2 separate regions of the Homo sapiens genome follow, and region 1 is linked to region 2. Evidence: promoter capture Hi-C in human tissues and cell types (Jung and others, 2019). All regions are on one chromosome and are shown on one strand. The core of a region is centred on a gene start or on the middle of the fragment in contact, and the rest is flanking DNA. Distances in the headings are between cores, read along the strand shown.

What was found. Contacts are between HindIII fragments. The study calls those that stand out against the background at their distance.
Region 1: a fragment that was not itself captured here is called in contact with the fragment with the promoter of KCNK10 in region 2 in 3 of the 25 tissues and cell types used here (dorsolateral prefrontal cortex, hippocampus and spleen).

What each region holds. Positions count from the first base shown.
Region 1 is chr14:88,249,533-88,254,147 of GRCh38, reverse strand. All of the region lies in intron 2 of KCNK10 (potassium two pore domain channel subfamily K member 10), which reads left to right. Among named protein-coding and RNA genes, the nearest start is that of KCNK10, 71 kb to the left of the region's middle. The HindIII fragment of the contact is 4,487 bases long and covers 1-3,707 here.
Region 2 is chr14:88,321,935-88,326,221 of GRCh38, reverse strand. It overlaps KCNK10 (potassium two pore domain channel subfamily K member 10), which reads left to right and starts at 2,953. Exons shown (of 7, transcript NM_138317.3): 1 at 2,953-3,475. The coding sequence starts at 3,424. RefSeq lists enhancers at 1-10, 2,316-2,375, 2,948-3,607 and a silencer at 2,426-2,665. The HindIII fragment of the contact is 9,751 bases long and covers 1-4,287 here.

The sequences.
Region 1 (4,615 bases), core at 215-2,714, 71 kb after region 2:
AATGGTCACTGTCTGTTCATGATAGTTTTTCTGTCTGAAGAAAGTCCCGGGGCCTTCATCTGCATGGCTGGGGCTAGGTCTGGAACTGCCTGGAGCATGAGCCTTTTGGGGGGTCTCTTCCCACCTGCTTTGTCTCTCTCTCTCTCTCCCCCTCACCCTGACTGGTCCAGTGACTCTTTATGTTGGTGAACAGAAACTTTACCATTGGTTTTCACTTTATGACGTCTATGGGCTTCCCCTCTCTGCCCCCAAGATGGCGTCTCACTCTGTTGCCCAGACTGGAGTGCAATGGTGAGATCTTAGCTCACTGCAACCTCTGCCTCCTGGATTCAAGTGATTCTCCTGCCTCAGCCTCCCAAGTAGCAGGGATTACAGGCTACTTCACCACCCCAGCTAATTTTTGTATTTTTAGTAGAGACAGGGTGTTGCCAGGTTGGCCAGACTGGTCTCAAACTCCTGACCTCAGGTGATCTGCCCACCTCAGCCTCCCGAAGTTTTGGGATTACAGGTGTGAGCCACTGTGCCGGCTAAGGATTTTTTTTTTAATCCTTTCCAAATAGAGTTTCAGATACTTTGCTCAGTACTGTGTTTGATGAGTATTATTTGGCAAGATTTATTATTTTTTCATTAAAAAATTAAAAATGACCTATAATAATTGTATGTATTTATGAGGTACCTCGTGATGTTTCCATACCTACAATGTATGATGATCAGATCCGGGAAATTAGCATATTCATCATCTCAAACATTTATCATTTCTTTGTGTTGGGAACGTTCAATATCCTCCTTTTAGCTATTTGAAACTATATACTAGATTATTGTTAACTGTAGTCCATCCTGCAGTGGTATAGAACACTAGAATTTATTCCTGTTATCTTGCTGTAATTATGTCCTGTTTAACAAATCCTTCCCTATCCTCTGCTCCCCTGACTCTTTCCAGTCAGCATTATTTATTAGGCACTGATTCTGTGCTGGCTGGGTGCTAGAGAGTTTACATATATTACTTAGCTTCATTTGCCTCTCTCCATTGCACCAAGAGGCGGCCACTGTTGCTGCCCCATTTTACAGAGGGTAAAGTTCTTGCATCTAGCTAGTGACCAAAGCAGGACTTGAGTCTAGCTAGATCTCTCTGACTCCAGAGGCCACGCTCTCTTAATCGTACTCTCCTTGGCTTGACACGGTGGGCTTAGAGAGTACATAATTGGATCAAGACAAATTCCTCCTGACGAAGGGAAAACCCACTCAAACAACATGATGAGCAGGCTCCTTTGTGACAGTTAGTGCTTGCCTTCTAACGCAGAGCTCTCTCTCCTGTCCTCTTCCTGTATTTGTAACCTTTCTGACATACAGAGAGCCTGCATGACAAGGCTGGGGTGCCAGATTGTTGGCCTCTGGCTTACTGACTCATTTTATTGGCTGTGCGCATTGGGCCTGACTCTACCATGTTTTAGTGGAGAAAGATTTAGTCTAAGATGTGGGCAGCGGCATGTGAGGAGTGGGTATTGTGCTGTGGTCCTGGGTATGAACCTTTGATGTTGTCATGGCAACCAAAGCTGCTATTCTGCAGATGAGAGGACTAGATATTATGAACTGTCAAACTGTTCTCTCCATAACCAAGGAGATGTTGGTAATCTCCTTGGTAATTTGCATGACCCATAAACATTTCCCAAGGCTGTGGCTCTGCCCTTCTGCCAAGACCCGAGTCACTCACTTGCTCACTCACTTACTCATTTGCTCACTCACTTATTCATTCTTTCATTCAACAAACTTGTTGATTGCCTACTGTGCTAGATGCTGGGATGTAATGGTGAATAAAAGACAGACATGGTCCCTGCCTTCTTGGAGCTTATAACTAGGATGACCAAATGTCCCAGGTTTTGTGGTTCTGGAGTAATTGTTAATAGTGCCCCTTTCTCTCTCAGAAGTGTCCTGGGGCTGGGCGTGGTGGCTCATGTCTATAATCTCAGCACTTTGGGAGGCTGAGGCAGGCGGATCACTTGAGCTCAGGAGTTTGAGACCAGCCTGGGCAACATGGCAAAACCCCATCTATATTAAAAAAAAAGTGTCTTGGTTTGAAATATAAAATATATAGTGACCCTACTTATAGACAGTGGGAGAGCCAAACCTTATGCATGTTATTACACAAATAATTGTAACTAAAAGCCAGATGAAAGTTGCAAAGGAGAGGGAGCTAGAGCTATGGGACACCCAAATAGGAGAACTGATTTAGTAGGACAAAGATTCCAGGCAGAGAGGGCTGAGTCAAGGCCCTGGATGGGAGGAAGCAACATGCCATGGCTGAGGACTTGAGAGAAGTGAGCAAATGTGGCCAAAGGGCATTTAGCAAAGGGAACTTAGAAAGCAATTTGGCTGGAGACAGGCAGGAGCCAAACCACGCAGGTGCTGATTCTGAATTTTATCTTAAGAGCACTGTGAAGCTTACAGTTATGTTTTCAGTAGCAGAGTGATATAATCTGGTCAATCAGTACATTGCCATTTTGGTTCTTCGTATAAACCCAAAGGGTTTTAAGTTATTTGTTCATTAATTCAATAACTAAACATTTATGGAGTGGCAACTGTGGCACTCTGCTAAGTGTTTTGCTCTGGAGTTCTGAACTCAATTGTCCTCAGTGGTGCCAAAACTCAACTCTTGGGGGAAGCCTTTATGGGCCCTTTATGTTGGGTCGTGTCCTGCTTGGCACCATTTGCCCCCCATTTGCTAGACTCTCTTGGATGACCTTTACTTTTCTCTGTCCTCTTTCCATGACTGTGAGCTCTTTGAAGTTGAATCTATGTCTTTTATCAATATATCCCTTCTGCCTGGCACAGTGGCTGGCCAATAGAAAATGCTAAAGGCTTGAGGAATGAAGGAATGGTGCTTTTTGTGTCTGTTCTTTTTTTTTTTTTTTTTTTTTGAGACAGAGTCTTGCTCTGTCTCCCAGGCTGGAGTGCCTTGGCATGATCTCAGCTCACTGCAACCTCCACCTCCTGGGTTCAAGCGATTCTTCTGCCTCGGCCTCCCTAGTAGCTGGGACTACAGGTGTGCACCACCACGCCCAGCTAATTTTTGTATTTTTAGTAGAGACGGGGTTTCATCATATTGGCCAGGCTGGTCTTGAACTCTTGACCTTGTGATCTGCCCACCTCGGCCTCCCAAAGTGCTGGGATTACAGGCATGAGCCACTGTGCCCAGCCTTTGTATCTGTTTGAAGACCAAGAGCCCTTCATTTAGAACTTTCACAGAAGGAAAGCAAAAAATTCTTTTGTTTCTGTTTTACAAGTCTTTTCTTTTTGGTCTGGTTGTCAATAGTACTTCTCTGGATCCGCCTCCTGTATTCAAGTGATTTTTCTGTCTCAGCCTCCTGAGAAGCTGGGACTACAGGGGTGTGCCACCACACCCAGCTAAGACAAAAACTCACCTTGTTGTCTTCTTTATGCATGAGCAGATTCCCTTGGTATCTATAGCCGTCGAAGCTTTACGTATTTCCCTATTTAGGGACATAAGAATTTTTAGGAAAGCAGCGTGTTGGAAAGCACGGCACCTGAGATGTTCATGGAAATCCTTGTTGTGACTTCAGAGTGCAGATCTAGAGCAGCCCTCTGTTTGTCTGCCCTGGGCCATCCCCTATTTCAAGCAGTCTTTAGTCCAGGAAGTTTAGGTAGCAGCTCAGGCAGCAGGTGAGCTCTGGAGAGTGCAGGTTCGGGTTCTTTGAGCCCAGGGGCACAACTCTGAGTTGAAGTGACTCCTCCTGGCTGTTGCTTTGAATTTAGAAGAGCTGCCCTTTCACCAGCAAGGCAGTCACGCAAAAGATGCTTCAATGTGTGCAAGATCAGGCCTGCAGCCCCCAGCCTGTGTCTACAGGCCTCCGAGTCATTATTATTACTGTTTCTATCCCTGGGGTTATTGATTTCATCACTGTTTAGTGAAGGAGATCTAAAGCTTTTAAGCCAGAAATTAAAGAGGTAATGGAAATTGGCATGCCACTGGAAAATGAATTTGCAAATGAGAATTCAATGTTCTAAAAAAACTCCCATAAAAATAAAACCAAAACCCAGAAGTGAATGCTCCTGTGACTGCATTTTTTTCCAAATGTGCATGGGTTTGTTCTCCTTTAGAGTGTGGCTGTATACATTATGGAATAATGAGATTTTGATGGTGTCTCGTTCCTACAATTGCTCTTATTACTTATCACAATACAATGTATTCATTTATATAACTAATATTTACTTAGTACCTATAATGAAGCAGGTGCTATGTTTGGCTCTAGCGATTAAAAAACAATAAAAAATGCAAGATGCCTCCACCCTGTCCTCAGGGAGCTTGAGGTTCAGTATTAATTATATCGCTAGCCAATTCTGGCATGGTGCTTACTGTGGACAGGAACTGCTCTAAATGCTTCACGTGTAGTAACTCATTTAAATTTTACATTGATCCTATGAAGTGGGGTAAGCAACAGAGGAACAGAGAAGTTAAATAACTTGCCCAAGCTGAAGTGAGAGGTGGAACTGTGATCCGGCCAAGGCAGTCCGGCTCTAGAATCCATGGTTTTTAGCCATGATGCTCTACTCTAGTGGATAGTTACAGCCCAGTAGCTATTGGTTACTAGATTGGTTC
Region 2 (4,287 bases), core at 1,704-4,203:
TTATTTACCTAATTTTGGTGGATTTTTTTTTGGGGGGGGGCGGGTAACTTGCTTTTGTCTACATTCTGAGAAAGGAGAATGAAAGTGGAGGTGAGAGAAAGCTCCAGAGGTTGGAGGTGGGGAAAAGAAAGGAGGGGGCGGCATCCAGTGATTAAGCAGAGAGATCATCCCAAGGGCCAATGACTAGTGCAAGTCTTCAAGGCAGACCAGGAGCACTAGACACTGATCCTGCTCCCTGCCCTAATAGAGTCTACCCCCACCTCCCCATCCCCAACCCTCCCCTTATAACCATCCTGCTGTTGCCATTCTGGGGAAGGTCATCACTACTCAGGGCCCCAAATAACTTTTAATGGGGACCTGCAACCTGTCTTGTACACAAGTGATGCTCAATAAATGTTTGTTGATTGGCCGAATGATGTTGCATCCTAAGGGTGCAGTTCCTGCCACAGGAATTTGCCTTGGACAGTGAACTAATTCCCCAATGCAGACCCCAGAACACAACCATAGGTCAGTTCATTTTGCAAAGGAGGAGGGCCTGGAGGCTTGGAAAATATCGTATTTAGACCTTCATTACCCAAACGAACCCATGGGACAGGTTCAGGGTCAGATTCATGGGTCCCGGGACTGGATGAGCTCACAAGGTTCTGGCATGGAGAGCATGGACCTTTGTGTCAACAAACTTGGGTTTGAATCCTCATATCGTGACCTTGGGAATGTTTCTTTATCTCTCTGAGCCTTGATCTTCTCATCTGTAAAAGGAGGCCAGTTACAGCTTCTGCAAAATGATCTAACAAAGATGAATGGAGAGGAAATATGAGATGGTGAGGGGGAATTCAGTAAATGTCAATCTTGCCTCCCCGTGCTCTGAGGACTCAGGAGAGGGTGTCTTTCTCTGCTGAAGCCCCTCTCTGACTCTGATGCATGTAAAAAACATTGTATTGCAGTGACTGTGCTAGAGTCCAGCTGTCCGTGAACAGTTAAAGAGAAGAGCGCAGAGGGAGGTTCGAAAGCCTTTCTTAGAAGCATCTCCCTCTGGACTTGAGAACAGAATTTACATACACACTGGTGTCTCGGGGCATGGCTGGGAGAAGCAGAGATTCCTTGTTTGTTTGATTTCTATGTCTTAGCCATCCTCCCAGTCCTAGTAGAGAGAGGCAAAGTGTGGTTACAGAGTCCAGGGAAGATGGTTCTGAAGCACCCGGGAACCTGCCTAAAGGGCTGAAGAGTCAGAGTAGCACCATCAGATTGGTACCAGTTTTGCCTGAACGGGGTTTGCAGAGAATTCAGGGCTCCAGCCTGGGGTGCCTGTGACAGCCCAGTGACAAAGCACTCACCTTTCCCACAGACCACAGCGGACCTCTGTAGGTCTTGCTCTTGGACTCAGAAACCTTGATGTGATAGTGACGGATGGATGGTGAGAAAGATGCTGCTGACATAGGGCTCCCCAGAAGCCTCAAGGTGCCGTAGAGTAGCATGCAACTTAGAGATCAGCTGCTAGTGTGGGATTTTAGGACCCCAGCTGGCAGGCATAGGAATGAGCTGGGCAATTTCTATGCGTAAGTAAAGGCAACAACAATCTAACAGGACCTTATGGCACTAGATAGTAAGCCCCATGAAGGCAAGATCTCTGTCTTGTTCTCTGCCATATGGCCAGCACATAGCACAGTGATGGCACTTGGAAGGGGTTCAATATATATGTTGAATGAACAACAAATTTTAGTAACCTTATCTGGAAGCCAGAGTAGGGGTTTAAACTACTTCCTATCCAACACTGCAGCATGCAATTCATGTCTTCATTTAGCAAGTATTTCTTGAGCACCTACTACGTGTAAGGCTCCGTTGCGAGGCATCCGAAGCAATTTGTCAGCATCATTCATGTTGATACTCGGAGTGACCCGTTCAAGAGCACCTCAGCACCACCTGGCTTTTCTGAAGACTGAGGCCCCACCACAAACCCCTGTGGGGCTTCAAGCAGGGGCAGTGAGAGGGCGTTAGACGAATGCTCCAGGTTTAGCCCCTTTCCGGGAACAGGTCTGGGTCCCTTCGCATCTGCCCTGCTGGTCCCAGGATCCCGGGGCCGCCGCTTCCGGGAGCTGCCGGGTCTTGGCAACTCCGCTTTCCTCCGGGGGCCCCCGTGCCTCTCTCAAGCCTCCTTTCCAGCCAACGACCAGCGGCCCCAGTCCGGCTGCAGGTAGCTGGGGAAGGGACCAAGCTGTGCCTTGGGAGCGAGCTTCCCCGGGCGGGGAGAGCGCAGCAGATGCGGAGCGGTCCCAGAACAAAAGGCTCATGGCTGGCACGGGCCTCCTTGGAGTGCGGCGGGGACGTGGGTTCGGGACTCAGGCGAGAGAGCCAGACGCGGGAGGAAAAAAAATGAAGTGAGAAAAGAGAAGGAGGGAGAGCTCAGGGTGAGAGCGGTGAGAAGAGGTGACCCGGAGGCCGAGGTCTGCGGCGGAGCCGCAGCGGCCCTTCCTCCGCCTCCTGCAGCGCCTTCCAGGCAACCAAGCGTGTCTCCGGCTGCAACTCCAGCAAGCGCGCCGCTGCCGCCTCCACGCCCGCCCGCCGGCCGGCCGAGCCAGTAAGTAGCGGCGCGCCCACCGCTCGTTCCCCGCCCCTCCGCGGCTTCCCCGCCACCGCCCACCGCCTCCCGCCGCCCCGCGGGCAAGTCCGCGACCGCCTCCCGCTGCCCCGAGCCGGGTGCCGGGGGCTCAGCGCGCCTTCCCAGCTGGGAGCCTCGGTCCGCTGCTCGCCCTGCTCCCTCTTGCCGGGGCGCGGCGTCTGGGGCGCGCCGCGGGGAGGGTCGCCCTCGCCGCGCGCTGCCCGGGCGCCGCGCCACCCCTACATCCAATGGCTTTCGGGGAGCGGGAAGTGGGGGGCGTCGCCGGGGGCGAGGAGCCGCGGCCGGGGTGGGGCGTGTGCGCTCAGCGCGGCCGAGCGAGGCTGACGTGCCCGCCCAAGCGCGCGCCCGGGAGTGTGTGTGCGGGTGTGTGTGTGCGGGAGTGTGTGCGCACACGCCTTCGGGGGCTGGAGTGACACTGCAGTGGGCTTCTCCGTAGCCCCAGCCTTCAGGCTGCGCAGCCCCTAACCTGCCGGCACCGCTTTTGGGAAGCAGCTTGGCTCTTCCATCTCCCCAAGCCTTCCTCTCCATCCTTTCATCCACCCCTCGCCGATCTTACTTTTTCTTTTACCCACGGGGCCGCGGCCGGCCACCCCCTGGCCGGTGCAAACACCCAAGCCCTCTCCAGTTCTCCCCCAAGCTAATATTTTCCCACCTGTCTTTTTCTGGGGTTCCTCCACGAGCCAGTCCAAGGCTCCCCCATCCTCGGAAATTGTTTTGTTGGACTGCTAAACCGAGGCGTGTAAAGCTTGAGGACTTTATTATTATTTGGGTTCTTTTCATTTCTTCCCCTTCTGGGCAACGAAGCAATGAAATTTCCAATCGAGACGCCAAGAAAACAGGTGAACTGGGATCCTAAAGGTGGGTGTTTCCTACTTTTGGCTGCCCTCGCCCTGCCTCTGTCTCCGGCGTGTGCGCGCTTCCTTGAGTGGAAGCACTCTTGCTTCTGGCAGCGTGTGTCCTGAGGCTGGGAAATGCGCCTGGGAACTGCAGCGCGGGTGGGAGGAGGGCGGAGGCAGCGTGGGTTCCGAACCCAGATAGTGCCTGTCATTACCACATAATCATTGTCCCTCCTAGATTGTCTCCAGATCTATTTAGATAGACCAAGCCGACTGTTTGGTTTGAAATTGCAAGTGTCGGTATTTGCTTTTGACTTTGAGTGTGCGAGTGTGTGTGTGTGTGTGTGTGTGTGTGTGTGTCCTTTGTTTCTGGTGATCTTTGTCTCTCTGGCAGATGGGTGGGGTGCTTCCCCCTGGACCTGGAGCTGCGCCGCATGCCCGGGTGTCCTCAGTGGGAAAGGTTTCCTGGCAGCAAGTGGGGCTCGAGTTGCAGCAGCCGTCCCTAGGGGTGGGCCGTTCTCGCAGGGCATGCAGAATAATGGAGCCCACAGGGCCTCCTGAGTCTTCGTTCAATCTTATTACCAAACCTAGCAGCTAGTTAGGCTCAGGTCAGAGTAGAAGCAGGAGGAGGGGTGGTTTGTGAGAAGGGTGGGGCTGGCAAGGCATAGGGGAGGGGCACGAAGTGTGCCCGCCCAAGCAATGGTGTGGTTTGCATGCTTTTACGAATGTTGGACCAGGTTTCATCCACGCAAAAGGGAGGGATTAAGACGGATTTGTGTGTGCCTAGCGTCGGCCACCGTGTCTGTAATTAGCATACAGATGTTAAGGCTCCAA